4 separate regions of the Homo sapiens genome follow, and all the other regions are linked to region 1. Evidence: promoter capture Hi-C in 16 types of primary human blood cells and fetal thymus (Javierre and others, 2016). All regions are on one chromosome and are shown on one strand. The core of a region is centred on a gene start or on the middle of the fragment in contact, and the rest is flanking DNA. Distances in the headings are between cores, read along the strand shown.

Evidence for each region. The method cuts DNA at HindIII sites, captures the fragments that hold promoters and counts their contacts. A CHiCAGO score of 5 or more calls a contact.
Region 2: a fragment that was not itself captured here is called in contact with the fragment with the promoter of NCR3LG1 in region 1 in 1 of 17 cell types (monocytes); the score reaches 5.6 in monocytes.
Region 3: a fragment that was not itself captured here is called in contact with the fragment with the promoter of NCR3LG1 in region 1 in 2 of 17 cell types (naive CD8 T cells and naive CD4 T cells); the score reaches 7.3 in naive CD8 T cells.
Region 4: a contact is called between a fragment that was not itself captured here and the fragment with the promoter of NCR3LG1 in region 1, in 1 of 17 cell types (monocytes). The highest score is 6.7, in monocytes.

Annotation. Positions count from the first base shown.
Region 1 is chr11:17,349,549-17,354,283 of GRCh38, forward strand. It overlaps NCR3LG1 (natural killer cell cytotoxicity receptor 3 ligand 1), which reads left to right and starts at 2,252. Exons shown (of 5, transcript NM_001202439.3): 1 at 2,252-2,491. The coding sequence starts at 2,422. LOC105376576 (a long non-coding RNA gene) reads right to left here and starts at 2,318. Exons shown (of 3, transcript XR_931094.3): 1 at 2,231-2,318; 2 at 1,489-1,626; 3 at 1,265-1,363. It also overlaps a transcript of NUCB2 not described here. RefSeq lists a silencer at 2,074-2,193 and enhancers at 2,190-2,791, 2,792-3,393, 3,618-3,667. The HindIII fragment of the contact is 2,891 bases long and covers 1,429-4,319 here.
Region 2 is chr11:16,776,667-16,780,986 of GRCh38, forward strand. It overlaps PLEKHA7 (pleckstrin homology domain containing A7), which reads right to left. Exons shown (of 27, transcript NM_001329630.2): 27 at 631-2,354. The coding sequence ends at 2,332. Among named protein-coding and RNA genes, the nearest start is that of C11orf58, 40 kb to the left of the region's middle. RefSeq lists enhancers at 2,084-2,807, 2,808-3,530, 3,926-4,320. The HindIII fragment of the contact is 9,770 bases long and covers 1-4,320 here.
Region 3 is chr11:16,732,109-16,736,146 of GRCh38, forward strand. It overlaps a transcript of SOX6 not described here. Among named protein-coding and RNA genes, the nearest start is that of C11orf58, 4.5 kb to the right of the region's middle. The HindIII fragment of the contact is 239 bases long and covers 2,443-2,681 here.
Region 4 is chr11:16,801,561-16,805,619 of GRCh38, forward strand. PLEKHA7 (pleckstrin homology domain containing A7) reads right to left here. Exons shown (of 27, transcript NM_001329630.2): 14 at 1,667-1,735; 15 at 1,412-1,492; 16 at 108-257. Among named protein-coding and RNA genes, the nearest start is that of C11orf58, 65 kb to the left of the region's middle. RefSeq lists an enhancer at 590-1,789. The HindIII fragment of the contact is 4,430 bases long and covers 1-3,638 here.

The DNA.
Region 1 (4,735 bases), core at 1,002-3,501:
ACATTTCCCAGAAGTCACACAGAACATTTCCATTTATATTACTTTGGCCAGAACTTGGTCATATGGCCACATTTAGTTCCAGAATGATTAGGAAATGCAGTCTTTTATTGATCCCTGTGCCCAGGAAAATATTGGAGGCCTTTTTCAAGGAAAAAGGGGAAAACAGATATTGGTTGACAAATAGCAGTCTCTGCCATACTGTCCCTGGATACATGTCTTTGAGTGAATGTCCCTTATTTACCATTCTGATTACTTGTTGGATATTTTCAATATGTGTTACAATATGGTTCCAAAATTGTATGTGATATTCCAACAGCAAGTTGGATGCAATGTGTCATAAAAATGACCTCAGTGTCAACCAGCATTTGAATACCGTGTCTCAATGCTGTGCACCAATAAAGAACACAGAAAGTCAGAGTTTTCCATAAATAATTCCTGAGAATATATGCTTATTTTGTTTGAGAAGCATCGTGAGGTATCTGCTGTGTGCTTTAGGGTTGAATGGAAAGTTGGCAAAAGTATTAAAAGACATGTTCAGGCCGGGTGTGGTGGCTCACGCCTGTGATCCCAGCACTTTGGGAGGCCGAGGTGGGCGGATCACTTGAGGTCAGGAGTTCAAGACCAGCCTGGCCAACATGGTGAAACTCTGTCTCTACTAAAAATACAAAAATTAGCTGGGTGTGGTGGCAGGCACCTGCAATCCCAGCTACTTGGGAGGATGAAGCTGAGGCACAATAATCTCTTGAACCTGGGAGGCAGAGGTTGCAGTGAGCTGAGATCACGCCACTGCACTCCAGCCTGGGCAACAGAACGAGACTCTGTCTCACCAAAAAAAAAAAAAAAAAAAAAAAAAAAAAAAAGATGTTCAAATAGACATGATATTGGTAAAAACGAAAACACAGGTAATGACTTTTCATTCTAATGAAATATAAATAGAGAAACCTGCCGGTTTTACCCTTTAGAGTAAAAAGGGTACAAAAAAATTACCAAAACAGTAAAAATTACCAAAAGAGTAATTTGATAATTTCTACAGGGTGATGTGTATGTGTCACAACTTTGTGAATCACTATTCTGGGCATGTATAAGAAGTCGTCATATACCTCCATTGGGAATGTTATTTAATGATGTCACTAATACCAGACAAGGATGTCTCCTCAGGTAAGGCTCCTTGGAGGAGGCAGAGGTTGAGAAGAGGTGTAATTTAGGTTTTAAAAATTCAATAGCTGGACTTAACCTTGCATATCTCTACCTGTTATAACGGTGGTCCGGAAGGCTGCGATCTGAAGGCCCCTCAGCTAGTTGCTGCCACTGTGGGCACTCTGCGCATCTTTCACTTCTGAGCTCTTTCTGTATGCACTCTGTTCTGCAGATAAGTGAGAATGTGACTATTTGCTTAGTCAGTGACAGTGTCTCTAACCCTGGAAAGGAAGCTTTTACTCTCTCAGTTTTAGAGACATGTGAACAGGCTGGGGATATGAGGTCACTTACCCACTGTCTTATAATCAGCAGATGGCATGGTTGGCATTGGAGTTTAGGTCTGTCTGTGCTTTTCTGTACATTACATCCTTTTTAATGATGCGAAGGAAAAATGCAGTAGGGTCAATGAGACAAATGGAATGCAGGTTGCTGGGGAAAGAATGCAGGTTCTGCGTTATAAATGCACACACATTTACTGTGCCACTTGGGTTCTGAACTTTGCGGTTAAATTGATTTAAAAACTGGTGTAGAGGTGGTAAAACTTAATCACCGAATGAGAATATTTGGGTTTGCTTCAGGAGGTCGCAAGCCACTTCTTGATTAGTAGAAATGGGAAATTAAGGGCCACCTTCAGGCGTTTAACTGAATTGTCCTGGGGATTTAATTTGCCTTTCGACTTAATGCTAAATTTTTGTTGTTTTTGGTTTTTAAAGTAATGTAAGTTTATCGCGCCAACGGTAAGATGTCGCTCTGGACGCGTGCACCTGCTCTCGCAATCACCGACTGCGGTCAGCATCTTCCTTAGAGCAGCGCCCCGGGCCACTTGGATCCCGGTCTCAATTTACTAAGCGAACCCAGAGGATGCCCCGAGTCCTGGACCGCAGAGCCGCTCGCGAGAGGCACCGGGGCTGTAACCGCGCAACCTCGTGCCGCGGGCGGAGGCGAGGGAGGATTCCCCGGCCGGTGCCCGCCCCCGGGCTAAAGTGCGGCGCGGGTGGGGCTGGTCACGCGCCTGGCTTCCTGCAGTGCGAACCTGGGAAATCCAGGCGACTTCGCAGTTGCCGAAGGGATCTGAAGAAGTGGGATGTGCAAAAGCGCCGGCTGGAAATCCCGGCTGTGTCTCCGTCAACTCTTTACGCAACAGAGGTCTCCCCCTGCCCTTGGTTTCTACCGGGCCGCCTGCTCCCACTCGGCGAAAAAAATTACACAACAGCAGCCGCGGCGATGACGTGGAGGGCTGCCGCCTCCACGTGCGCGGCGCTCCTGATTCTGCTGTGGGCGCTGACGACCGAAGGTAGGGGGCGGCTGGGGTGGGCTGGGGCGGGGGCTCCTGGCGCCAGAGGGTCCTCGCGGGTCGGCTCCCTAGCATCCCGCCAGGGGACCTCAACTTCCTGGGGGCTGAGAGCTCTATTTTCTTTTCTATTTCTTCTCCTTTTTTTTTTTTTTTTTTTTTGAGACGGAGTCTCGCTCTGTCTCCCAGGCTGGAGTGAAGTGGCGCGATCTCGGCTCACTGCAAGCTCCGCCTCCCAGGTTCACGCCATTCTCCTGCCTCAGACTCCCGAGTAGCTGGGACCACAGGCGCCCGCCACCATGCCCGGCTAATTTTTTGTACTTTTAGTAGAGACGGGGTTTCACAGTGTTAGCCAAGATGGTCTCCTTGACCTAGTGATCCAGCCGCCTCGGCCTCCCAAAGTGCGGGGATTACAGGCGTGAGCCCCCGCGCCCGGCCTGGGGGCTCTATTTTCAAGCGTCCCTCCTTTGTGAGAAGCGGAGTCCCCGATGCAACAGGTTTACATTGAAGGCCTGCCCTGTGCAGGGTCGACACCTGTGAGAGCGGAAACGGTGCTTCCTTGGATGTCGCGCGTTTGGTGCCTCGGTATTTGGCGCCTCTCTCGCATCATCCGAGGGGCCGGAGGAGAGAAGAAAATCAGGGAATCGGTAAATTGGAAAAATCATTCATCCGCATATCAGTGGGTCCTCCTGGCTTTGCTAAGTTAGGTCTTTACTGAGAGAGGGAGGGGAGTGTTTTGATCTTGTGGTGACCTTCAAACGTTCTCTTGCTTTTTTGGGAACTCGTATGGGCGTGTTCTGCGTTAACTTAAACAGGAGACTAAAAGGCTGAAACGCGTATGTAGAGATATTTAAACTCATTTCTAACTAGAAGAATGGCAATTAAACAACAAGATGCTGCTTGACCCTTACTAGGCTGGCCAAAATACGCTCCTGGGTGCCGGGTGGTGGAGGTGGAATGTAGGAATCCCGGAGGCGCGCTCTGGGCGCCCCGAGTCACTGCAGGTGGAGGAGAGCCGCGTGTGGACCTCACCGTGGAGACCTTGGCGGCAGCTTCACACCACGCCCTTGCTGCTTGCCGAGCAGCGTGAACGGATGTTGAAGGCGTAGAGCCAAGTAAACAGTGGACATACAATGCAATACCATTTCCACAGTTTGAGAAACAGAAGATACAGCCTTAAAGAGAACAAAAATTACATGTTAAACACCTTAGAATGGCTGCCCGATGGGAGAGGGAAGTGGAAATAAAAACGAGTGAATAGTATTTCTATACATTTGCAATAAGCAATGTGAAAATAAGACAGTTCCGAGTGAAGTGTGGGCGGTGAAGTGGAAAGCCAAAATTGCGCTTGTCTCCGCGCTGCGGACTTGAAACGCCTGTCACTGCGGTCTGGAAACGCCTGTCGCTGCGGTCTGGAAACGCCTCCGCGCTCTATCAGTCTGGGTCTCCTCGAGCTCGAAGTGGCGCCAGTGGGCTGCCGCCGCGCCCACCCGGTCCCATGCCCGTCCCGCGCCCCCTCCCGGGCCCGGCGCCCCCTCCTCAGGGGCCTTGGGTCCCCGCCACTTTCGTCCGGTCTCGGTCCCCGCGGATGCTGGTGGTGGTGGAGAAGGGCCGCGAGTTCTCAGGGAAGCGGAGAGGGAGGAACGCCGTTTGGCTGTGCGGCGGCGCCCAGTGACGGCAGCAGCAGCAGCAGCTCCTGGAGGAAGCTAGTTCCGGCTCGTCCAGCCACGAGGAGCGCGGCGGCGGCTGCATGAGGGTCGGACCCCAGAACCAGGCGTTGGTGCTGGACTTTGGCACCGGAAGAGACTGTGAAATGGAAAACCGTTTCGGAAGCTTTCGCCTAACAAATCATTTCCGCCTACAAGAAATTCCTACACCTTAGGATGGAGCATCTGTTTGCCTGGCTGCTATTCTGCGTGGAAGCAAATTTAAAGTGGTACAAGAAAAAAAAAATCCAGTCATACAAAGGAATTCGTCAGATTTTAATGCAAGAGATTCTAGCCCGTCTTTGTATGAGAATGTCTTTAAAGGTTGTTGATATAGAAAATGTTTTAAAGAACGTTAGGTTTTATTTCAGAAATGAAGTTGAAAAGAGCAATTTGTAAAGCTGTAGTTAACAGTCCTCCCTAGTTGGAGAGCTCTAGAACTGGAGGTTCTCTATGTAGGTTATACCACTAGTTGATTTGAAAAGATAAATGCATAAATGCTTTTCCTTGGAAACAAGACTGCAGAAAATTCCAAGGATCT
Region 2 (4,320 bases), core at 1,819-4,318, 570 kb before region 1:
GTAGCTAAAAAAGCAGCAGTACCCCCTGTTCGGAATGCCTTGGAATCTACTTTCCCCAGTTTAAATAGTTGGAAAGTCACCATGAACCTCGGATGCTCTTCTTGGCAGTAGAGAAAAACTGCCGTAACCACAGCTCAGAAATATACACACCCCTCAATGGAACTGGCTTCTTGCCTTCTGTTGTGAGCATACATCACAAGTCAAAATGAATTAAATACAAATCCAGTTTGCAATGGTCCGTCACTAAGCTGCCTCCCAGGAGCGAGCCGGCAGCATGTGGGTTGGAAGGGGGCCCACAGCGTTCCCTGCGCTGTCTTGAATTGGACTGCAGTCTGTCTGACAAACCAGCCCCACAAGGGAGTCCACAGCCTGGTGGCTCTTTGACTGGGATGGGGTAGGGGGTTGCCTTGAGCAACTGTGGAAGCCTAGCCAGGGGCCCAGAAGCACAGGCCTCCTCAATCCAGGCCTCTACAGTCAATCAAATGTCAAGGAATCGTCACCAGAAGAAACTTTTCATAGGTAAATAGAAGCAGGGCCGAGAGCTGACAGTGGGGATTTTCCAAAGAAATGGAAACAAACGTACACAGGCCACTCACCAGAGACTATAGCCAGCAAGAAACAGGAAACGTATCAGGTTAATATTTTAATCTGTACATCACATTTTTTTTGCAAACCATTACATTTTTAAATTAACTTTTTCTTGCAAAATATTCATTTCATTTTTTCCAAGAAAATCTTATAAAGGCAAAAATAAAATTTTATTTTGGCAAATGTCATGAAGTCGATACTGGCAGCATATGGAGTTAGTTAAAAATAGACAACAACTGCTAGATATATTCAAAATTCTATTTTTTTTTCTGAGCATAGTCAAAGAGAAATTTTCATTTAAAGTGTGGCTCCACCCAATGGAGGTTTTCGTTGTTGTTGTTTTTTCCATTTAAACGTCATTGTTTATATGCAGAATAATATAAGAAAACAACTTAAATAAAGGGCCACAAACACTGCACCTGGCTTGGTAGCCCCCCTCCTCATGTGGGGCTGGAAGTCAAATCAAAGTCCTGCCATTATGGCCCTGCTGGCGGCAGGCCATGAGGGATGGTGGGGGCACACTGCTGCCCTCCTGCCACCAGACCTGAGTCCCAGGGAAGCCAATCCGGGGTTCTCCAAGGGCAGGCAGCAAAGGTTCCCATCATGGCCTGGTTAGAGGGAAGGGATTTCTAGGTAGATGTCACCCAGTGTGGAGTTTATTGCTACGATACAATGAAAGTTGCTTCCTCTCACCTTTTCTGTATTTCAATGTGTACTGTTAAAAATGAAAGCAGGCTGGGCGTGGTGGCTCACGGCTGTAATCCCAACACTTTGGGATGCTGAAGCGGATGAATCACCTGAGGTCAGGAGTTCGAGACCAACCTCACCAACATGAAGAAACCCCCGTCTCTACTAAAAATACAAAATTAGCCGGGCGTGGTGGCACATGCCTGTAATCCTAGCTACTTGGGAGGCTGAGGCAGGAGAATCACTTGAACCCAGGAGGCAGAGGTTGCAGTGAACCGAGATCGTGCCATTGCACTCCAGCCTGGGCAACAAGAGTGAAACTCCATCTCAAAAAAAAAAAAAGATAGCAAACTGCTTTTTTCTTTCTGACAAGAGCCTTTTGCTGGAGGAAGCCTGGGGGCAGGTTGTGGGCCCCAGTCCTCTTGAACACACTGTTGCCCCTAAGCCAAACCCAAGGGGCAAGGCACAGACTTGGGCTCCACGTGTGATCCTCGTGGAGTTTCACACAGAGCTGGTCATCAGGTCAGGGACAGCTGATCTCTGCAGCCAAGGGCCCCTCTTCTCCCAGACAGCACGCCAACCAGCCTCTTGCTGGAGTCTACTGGGAACACCTCTTTAAATCTCACTTTCTCCTGAGGTCATTGGAAGTTGGACTAGCCTCGGCTTGCCCCGCCCTTCCTGCCCCCACAACACCTGTCACCCAGAAGTACCTGAATCTGTACGTGCAGCTGCAAAGTCCTGCATCCTCAACCTTCCTGCCACTCAGCCCTTGAGGGGAACATTAGAAAATAGATTCCGATTCTAAAATACAGTGTATTTTACAGTGTATATCAAAAGTGCCTTTGCCATTCATATGTAGAGAGGAGTCTGAGCTAAACTAGTGGGTGCATATTAGGGCCTGGCCTGTGGTGAACACCCGCAGTCGGTAAGCTGCTCCTTCCTCCGGCCGGATTCCCTGCTCAGCTGGAAGGGGTTTCCTTGGGGGCAGAAAGGTCATCTCCTTGGAGGAAGCTGGTTCCACTGGGCCCCTGGCTCCAGGCTTCTTTGCATGCTGGGTCACGGGTCAGTCACTGCCTGGGCTGGCAAAAAGCACAGGAGACAGTGAGAGGCTGGCATCCAGGGAGCAGGCACGTCTGCACACACATGATGGAATGGCAGATAGGCGGACAGGCAGAGCAGCAGAGCAGGGGGCTCTGGCAATGCGGCCGCTGCTGGGGGACCCTCAGCTTCCAGGACACATGGGGCTCTTGCCCCACCCTCCCTGCACCCCTATTCCACTGCTAGACACATGCTGGCCCCTAAATTGGGTCCCCATCCCGACAGGGCAAAGACTCTAATAAAGGTGCAGTCTGGCCCTGCCCTTCATTCTTTCAATGTGGGTAGCGCTCTTGGCCTCTGTGGGCCTTGTTTTTCTAACCTAAAAAACATGGTGGTCATACCCACTTCTTAACAAGGATGCTTTGAGAGTAAGAAGAAATGCAGTACTCCAAAGAGTATAATAGGCCAATCTTACAGCCATGGGGGCACCAAAACCCAGGAGGAACAGAACCTCTCTCCTGCCTCTCTGTGACTGAGCGCTGTTACTGTGCTCAGATCTCTAGGAGAAAGCCACACCCTCAAATGTGGCCTTCACAATGGGCGTGGCTAGAGCACTTCCCTATGGCTCCTCAACCACGGGGCCTCTACTCCACACCTCCTCAGAGCCTGGCCCAAGGAGGCTGACCTCTTCCTCTCATGCTCAGGCTGGCGGGGACCTGCTGACTCTGCTGTGAGGCACGGGGAGCACCCAGGATAGACACCTGCCAAAAAATCATGCTTCGCTCCCTGCAGCACAAATACTCTCTCCCTCCTTTCACTTCTTTCTCCAAACACCTAGAGCTGCTCGGGGCGGCCCAGATGAACCCATGAGTGGTGATGGGGAACAAAGGCTCTGAACTCACATCAAAGGGGTTCAAACCCCAGCACTTAACAAGCTGCGATTCCTTGCGCATATCCCTCAAGGCCTCTGAGCTTTTGTTTTTTCATCTCTAAAACGGGGAGGGGGGGGGGAATATCTTCATAGGGTTGTTGTGTGGATCGAAAGAGATACTTAGCACAATGCCTGGCACACAGCAGGCACTCAACAATGTTAACCACAAGTATACGTAAAGGAAGGAGAGGGGAAAGCCCTGCAAAATGATAGTGGGATGGGATGTCAGGGTAAGGACTGCCCAGACTGGTAGTCTGACCTTCCCCTGTCCAGGTGAACCGCTGGGCTCAAAAGCAACAGGCCCAGGCCAAGAACTCACTTGAGACTGGACCAGATGCCAGCCTCCTGTTTCAGGGCTCCCTCCTCATCCCACACTGCCTCTCATCACTAGATGCCCACATGGGGAGAACTTGGTAGGGTTGGTGCCAGAGCTTTCTGCCTGGCTGAGGGCCAATTTCACATTGCCCTGGGCTTCCCTTTCTCTCCCTCTTAAAGTGCCCAGTGACCAAAAGGGCAGTCCCAGTCTCTGCGCTGACACCAATTCTTTGTGACCTGGAGTGAGCCCCAGCCCCTCACTGGGCCTCAGTTTCCTCATCTGTAGAACTGGACTTTTCCCAATCTTACAGTTCTTCAATTTCTTTGGCCAAAGCCCTGAAAGGCCAAGATCTAACTCTTCCTTTCCAGCCCCCCAAGGCTGGCAGTGTGGTCTGCACTGGTTCTCGGGCATCAGGGTGCCCTACTGAGGAGAGCAGGGGATGGGGGCACAGTTCCGGTTCTAGAGATTTCATGGAGGCAGCAGGGTGGATTGCTCAGTCCCTATCGTATTAGAGCCACTGAGGATTGAGTTCCTAAAAAGCATCACTTTCCCACCTGCCTACCAGTCAGAACAGTCCCGCCAGCGGCCGCTTTGCCAGTGGAAGGAGGCATCAGCAGGTGGCACTGCAATCACCTCAGCACAGCAGGGAGGTGAGGGGCTCAGCGCTAGGGAGGTGCAGGAAGCAGGCAGAAGCACACCAGACAGGGGCTCTTACTTGGAAGGTGTTAGACAAAGGTGTAGTGGAGTCCGTTGGTAAAAG
Region 3 (4,038 bases), core at 1,312-3,811, 620 kb before region 1:
AACATTCCATGCTTATGAATAGGCAGAATCAATATTGTGAAAATGGCCACACTGCCCAAGTTAATTTATAGATTCAATGCTATCCCCATCAAGCTACCATTGACTTTCTTCACAAATTAGAAAAAACTACTTCGTTTCATATGGAAACAAAAAAGAGCCCATATACCCCAGACAATCCTAAGCAAAAAGAACAAAGCTGGAGGCATCACAATACCTCACTTCAAACTAAGCTACAAGGCTACAGTAACCAAAACAGCATGGTACTGGTACCAAAACAGACATATAGACCAACAGAACAGAACAGAGGCTTCTGAAATAATATCACACATCTACAACTATCTGATCTTTGACGAACCTGACACAAACAAGCAACGGGGAAAGGATTCCTTATTTACTAAATGGCTTTGGGAAAACTGGCTAGCCACATGCAGAAAACTGAAACTGGACCCCTTCCTTACACTTTATACAAAAATTAACTCAAGGTGGATTAAAGACTTACATGTAAGACCTAAAACCATAAAAACCCTAGATGAAAACCTAGGCAATACCATACAGAACATAAGCACAGGCAAAGACTTAATGACTAAAACACCAAAAACAATGGCAACAAAAGCCAAAACTGACAAATAGGATCTAATTAAACTAAAGAGCTTCTGCACAGCAAAAGAAACTATCATTGCAGTGAACAGGCAACCTACAGAATGGGAGAAAAATTTTTGCAATCTATCCATCTGACAAAGTGCTAATATCCAGAATCTGCACAGAACTTAAAACAAATTTACAAGAAAAAAACAACCCCATCAAAAAGTGGGTGAAGGATATGAACAGACACTTCTCAAAAGAAGACACTTATGCAGCCAACAAACATGAGAAAAAGCTCACCATCACTAGTCATTAGAGAAATGCAAATCAAAACTACAATCATCTCACACCAGTTAGAAGGGCAATCATTAAAAAGTCAAGAAACAACAGATGCTGGATAGAATGTGGAGAAATAGGAACGCTTTTACACTGTTGGTGAGAATGTGAATTAGTTCAACCATTGTGGAAGACAGTGTGACAATTCCTCAAGGATCTAGAACAAGAAATGCCATTTGGCCCAGAAATCCCATTACTGGGTATACACCCAAAGGATTATAAATCATTGTACTTTAAAGACAGATGCACATGTATGTTTATTGGAGCACTGTTCACAATAGCAAAGACTTGGAACCAACCCAAATACCCATCAATGATAGACTGGATAAAGAAAATGTGGCACATATACACCATGGAATACTATGCAGTCATAAAAAAGGATGAGTTCAGGTCCTTTGCAGGGACATGGATAAAGCTGGAAACCATGAGTCTCAGCAAACCATCACAAGAATAGAAAAACCAAACACGACATGTTCCCACTCATAAGCGGCAGTTGAACAATGAGAACACATGGACACAGGGAGGGGAATATCACATACCGGGGCCTGTTGGGGGTGGGGGGCTAGGGGAGGGATAGCATTATGAGAAATACCTAATGCAGATGATGGGTTGATGGGTGCAGCAAACCATCATGGCACGTATATACCTATGTAACAAACCTTCATGTTCTGCACATGTATCCCAGAACTTAAAGTATAAAAAAAAAAAAAAAAAAAAGGGCCAGGCACGGTGGCTCACGTCTGTAATCCCAGCACTTTGGGAGGCCGAGGCGGGTGGATCACAGGGTCAGGAGAGCGAGACCATCCTGGATAATACGGTGAAACCCCATCTCTACTAAAAATACAAAAAAATTAGCCGGGCATGGTGGCAGGCACCTGTAGTCCCAGCTACTCAGGAGGCTGAGGCAGGAGAATGGCATGAACCTGGAAGGCAGAGCCTGCAGTGACCCAAGATCGTGCCACTGCACTCTAGCCTGGGTGACAGAGCGAGACTTTGTCTCAAAAAAAAAAAAAAAAAAAGAAGATATACATCAACAACAATTTTATTGAAGCAATTTTAAGCAATACATTTTTCATTTCCCTTTTCATTCCTTTTTCATTTAAGTTCCTAGGTATGTGTAAAATAATCAAGTTAATATTTATAGTGCCACATTTTAAATCACAGTAGCACTCTGACAAATCTGCCTGCCCAATGGACAGAATGGGAGTTACCCAATCATCAACCATCATCAACCACAAATATGTATTTATTTATACCTTGTTTTCAAGATTCTGTGTTAGACCCTAGAGTTGCATTTATATTATGCCTTTAAAATCAGCTTCTAAATGGGCTTCATCTCATAGTCCACCACAGTGGAATAATGCATTTTTCACATTTTTTCCCTTTGCTTCAATGACACTAACCTCTCCTTCTTCTAGTTCTATGTCTACCTTCTAACCTCAGGCTCTTCTTCCTCATTCTATCCTTAAATCTTCTCCTTCTTGTTCTTTTCCAAGTATCTCTCTTCTAGGCACTCACTAGGTAAGCTTAGTTACTCTCCTTGTTGACCCACCACCTCTAGATGGGTGATTTCTAAGTTTATTGCTCTCTCCTAACTTTGAAGCCCATATTTTTAACAGTTCCACTTGGTGTCCTACTAATACTTTAACATGTCTAAAATCAAAGTCATCCTACCACATAAACTTGCTCCTCTCTAACCTCACCGATTCATATATTAAAACAACAAATATCTATTGAGTGATAGTTTATATGTCATGGTGCTAAGCTTAGATCCTACCCAAAAGCAGCTGAGAGTCTAGAACAGTCAACAAGACTAGTATCTTTGTTCAATACCTTTATTATAGCACTTATTTTTGTTGTGGTGGGCTAATCAAGATAAGTTAAAGATAATAGTAGAAAATAAGACTGGAATGGATTATTGAGATCAGAATATCGACCTTATTCTGACCTCAAGAACTGAATTCTTATTTTAATTATAGGCTTAATTCTATCAACTTAATTCTGTATAAAATGGGGAGCTCCAAGAAGTTTTTGAGCAGTAGAATCTCTACATTCCATTTTCAGAGGCTGAATCTGCCTAGAATGCATAAAATGAATTTAAATGGAGAAGTATTAGAAAACAGGTCACACAGATCTATGGAAGAGATTATCTTAATCTGAACCCATATAGTGAGAGAGTTAAACTCAAGGCTTTTCACAGCCCGGCTTTGATCAGCCTATAGAATTTTGTCTCAGAATACAATACTTTTAGGCTTATCAGGTTTCAGCACACTGGACACTAACCATCACTGAATATATGCCCCATCCTGCCCAAACTGTTTTTTCAAGGCCTAGCTCAAAAACTTTTGGGAAATAATTTTCCAATTTCCCTCAGCCAAAATGAACTGTTCTACAGCATTTTATTTGTAATTTACTGATGCCATTTAATCATTCTCCTGCCAAGCTGTAAACTCTTTGCAGTAAAGGATTATGCATTATTCACTCTGGTTTTCCTCAAACTTGGCACACTTCCTGACATATATGAAGCATCTTATTTAATGTTGGGTTATATTGGCACAGTGGAAAGTGCACTGGCTTTTGGAATTAGACTTAAGGACTGAATCATTCACTAGCTACATTATTTTAAGCAAGTATTTAACTTTTCTTAAGTTTAATTACCTATAAAATTCCCTACTTCTTGCAAATTATTGTGAAACTTTGAGGTCAATTGTAAAAATCACCTATAAAAAGCACCTAGCAAAGTATATGGTACATGGTGGGTATTTAATAAATGGTAACTGTAATTAAGGCCCTAGGAATTTTTTTTTTTAGTCTCAAGTGAAACAGCAGATTTTTTGTACACAGCATAATCTTCAAAGCCTTTATTTCCTCTTCAGTTTTAACTATGGTCAATCATGACTATCCCTGGTTGAGAGCACGTACTCGACAAACATCTGTGACTGCCCACTACATGCTAAATGTTGGGAAAATTTAAAAAAATGTAAAGTTCTCAGTGACAGGGCCTCCTCTCCTTGTCTTTACTACCCAAGAAAGAAGAACATTGCTGAGTTTCTAGGCCTCATATAAGATACCACTCTGGTACTATATAATTTCATCCTTCCTATATTAATTCAGAAACAT
Region 4 (4,059 bases), core at 174-2,673, 550 kb before region 1:
AGGACTCTTGCCTCTGGACACCAACTCAACTACATCTTGGGAGGGGAGAAAAGCAGCCCCTTGCTCAGCCCGTCCTGAGGGAGACAGGTCTGCCACCCTCTACGCACAGTGGACTCTCTGGAGAGCTCAGCTCGGATATGGACAAGGTCCTCCTGCAGCAACTTCTGCTGGTAGGCAATCTTCTCCAAGTGCTGGGGCTGGTCTCGGTACTGCTCCATCTGTCTGTGCAACACCTCCAGCACAGATTCTAGCTGGTCCTGCACCACGAAGGGCCAAAAAACAGCAGGATAGGAGGACAGTCCCCAGAGGCCTCCCCATACCACACCAGGAACCAAAGCTACTGGACCTAACCAAGGCCGAAGGGATCAGCGCTGAGATGTGGGCCCACAGTCGGGGCTCTGATGCCAGCTCTGACTCTGTCTAGGGAGTAGGCTGGGGAAAGTACCTAACAGCTCTGTGCCTCAATTTTGTCATCTATAAACTAGGGATACAGCTGTCTAACTCCTTATGGGATAAACTAAGAGAATAAACTAAGCTAAGAGGATAAATCAAAGAATTAAAAAAACAAAAAACAAAAACCTCTTTAGCCTCCTAGGGAAAAGAGTATATTGTCAACCTCCAGCATCACGAATTTAAAATGCAAAAGGAAAAAAATACTTTAAGAATAGAAAAGGCCAAATGTTGGTGGCCCCTGGCCCATTCCGGCACTCCCATCCAGACTTGCTGCCTCCATAGCCCAGATCCTAGGAGACAAGGAGCTTTAGGAAGCAAAGGCCTCTGCCCTGTAATGACTACAGCCACTTCCTCCAAAGGAACCCTGCTTCCCTGGGGTTCAGGGACCTGGGGTCATCACATATAAGCCAGTGGAGCTCCTCTCCCAGGCTCACCTCACAGGGCCTCCACGGAGAGGTAAGCCAAAGCAGAATGGGGGCAGGAGGGTCTCTATAAGATAGAAACCCCTAAGAAACACCATTTAAACACAAAGGCTTTTTTTTTTTTCCTCCTGAGACGAAGTCTTCCTCTGTTGCCTAGGCTGGAATACAGTGGCGTGATCTCGGCTCACTGCAACCTCTGCCTCCCGGGTTCAAGCAATTCTTCTGCCTCAGCCTCCTGAGTAGCTGGGATTACAGGTGCCCACCACCATGCCCAGCTAATTTTTGTATTTTTAGTGGAGACAGGGTTTCACCATGTTGGTCAGGCTGGTCTCGAACTCCTGACCTCATGATCCACCTGCCTTGGCCTTCCAAAGTGCTGAGATTACAGGCATGAGCCACCGCACCTGGTGCATTTTTTTTTAAATAAGCTAACATCTGCTCTTCAATACTAACATGAGGGTCCAGCCTATGTCTCAAGAAAGACAGGACAAAATGTCCCTCTGCCCATTCCAAGATTATTCAAAACTGACACGTACTTTGTTCTCTTTAAGGGCTCGTATCTTGTCTTCCAAGTCCTGGAGGACCCTGTCTTGTTCACAGAAGATGCTCAGTTTGACCTAAAAGCAAGAACAGGTGGAGAGGGCCTGGGGTGATGAGAAAAGGACATGACCTTGGGATTGCAATCAGACAGCCTTTGGCTACAGAACCATCCAAGCCCTGCCTGAAGCTGTTCACCCGGGGTCTGGGTCAGGAGGCAGCTGAGGGGTCAGCGTGTCACTCTGCTCACTCACGTCAGTGTCGCTCTCAGCGATCTTCACAGGCTTCAGACTTCGATCCTTGAGAAGGTCCCGGCCTGTCATCTGGGAGGCGAACAATTTAAAAGAGATTTAACCATGGTGTTTGAGATCAGAACTCAGGAAAGAAAATTCATCCTATAATGGATGGTGTGGAAGTCCTTGGCAGTGGCAGGTAGGGTCATAGTATGAGAGGGACAAAAACTTGGGCCATACTTCGCTATTTCTATGCCTATTTCATTTTAGGAAAAAACCAAAACCTTTTGATGATTCTAGTAATGCTGGTAAGTCCTTTGAGTTAAAGAAAATGTAGATGTTCAAGTTAAAGGATCATCAATTTTAAAAGTATATATTTGCCTAAAATGAATGTGAAAAATCAGCATGAATCTTGGAAGATTTGCCACCGATAAGACAGAGGTGTACTACTGAACGTGGGAACAAACACAAGTTACGAAGCCCATCACCCCCTGCCCAGGGTGGTGAGATGGGCAGACCCAGAGGAACAAACAAATCCCTTGACCATTGTCAAGCCTTAGTTTAATGAAGTCTCTGAGCAGCCCACTTCCCCGTGGGTAAGGCCAGCCTTCCTTACCCTTTACCATTTGGGAAGAAGACCTGGCCAAGGTAAAAAGGAACCTGGCTAGTTCCCAGCAAGGGTTTTTAATTGTTCCCTGAATAACTGAGGCTAGGCTGTACTTGTGTAAGTTACAAGAAAGGAAACCATAAAGCAATATACAAAAGTCACCCAAACTTGCGGGCCAATGGGATTTTACATTTCCCATCCCTCACTTGACTCAAAGTAGGCAATATGCTGCCTGTCTCTCACTGACTCCTGAGAATCTAAATCTTACTTATCCCATTTTTCCATTTCCCCCAATTTCTTTCTTGCCAAAAGTCATGCAGGGGCTGAGGGGAGTGACTTTCACAGATGCACCCTCCCATGGCCAAGATAAGGCCAGGGAGAACCAAGTCTATTTTGCCTAATGTAGGGGAAACCACCTCACTGAGCTCTATTTTGCAGATCTGACCAGGAAAATGGAGGGTGGAGCTAACAGTGGCAGAGACAGGTGGTGTGTGTGTGCTATGCAGAGAGGTCCCAATGTGGACCGATAGCTGCTGGAGAGAGAGGTGTAGATTTCTCCCCATTCTATCTGTAAGGTCCAGGAAGTTTGTCAGTGTGGATTGGGGGTGGAAATAAATTGGCAAACATTCCACTCAGTGCTCAAGCCCTTCATGTGCCCAACTGTCCTATGCTACCTCTCCCTGCAAACTGTCATGAGCAAATCCAAAGGTCAAGGGAGAGGACCTCTCCCTGCCTTGGAGTGAGGACTGATTCTGGGCTACACACATGCCCCACCCATTCCCACGATCCCTTTGGTCACACAGAAGAGGACGGAACCATTGTTTTATCTTGGTAAAGTCAGCCCTGAACAGAAGACCTGGCACAAACTCAGCAAATGCTTATTGAATTGCATTGCATGTAGGTCAAAGGGAAACACATGTAGGTCAGTGTTGTTGAGTTCCCGGAAAAAATAGAACTCCAGCCAAATTCTGCTCTTCAGACTGTCAGATTATGTGTACATACACGTATACACACAGTTGCAGAACACAAGACTGCAACAATCCACAAACAAACAGACTGTGCTGTCTCCTGCAATGCGGGGGGGGCGGTGCAGGGAGGTGTGGGGAGGTGGGCATGAAGTTAATCCTGGTGAATCACAAACAGCTGAACTTCTCAGGCAGAATGTGGGTTTTAAACTCAGGGGAACCCAGGAGAAAAAGCAGGTGAAAGCAGTGAAGTCTTCGCTCTATGCCATCGTCCTTTCATCAAAGCCAAGAACAAGGAGGTTGTCTATTCTCCAAACCGGCTGACCTTTGGGGCTCATTTTCTAGGTAGAAATCATTTTCAAATGGAGATACACTCTGGGGATTCTTTCCCCCAGCAAAACTCTTCCCCTTATTTCACTGAAGCTTTTTACAGAGGATGTCTTTTTGATACTTAAATAACAAGCCAGAAAATCTAATTGAGCAATGCCTCATTTATCCAGCACCATCAGGAAAAGAATGAGATATTTTATATAAAAAGGACATTTTGAGAAGAAGCTGAATCCTCTAAATTATACTTTTTGATGGAAAGCTTTCTAAAAGTATGCCCTTTGCTGCCTTCATGGAATACTGAATATACATTCAACCTTTTTTTTCTCTCTCTCAGGATATTAGTACTACCTCTTTTTCTAAGAAGTAGATTTCTCTTGTCCCTTTTTAAAGTGCTGCTTATCTTGCCAGGCACGGTGGCTCACACCTGTAATCCCAGCACTTTGGGAGGCCAAGGCGGGTGAATTATGAGGTCAGGAGTTCAAGATCAGTCTGGCCAACATGGTGAAACCCCA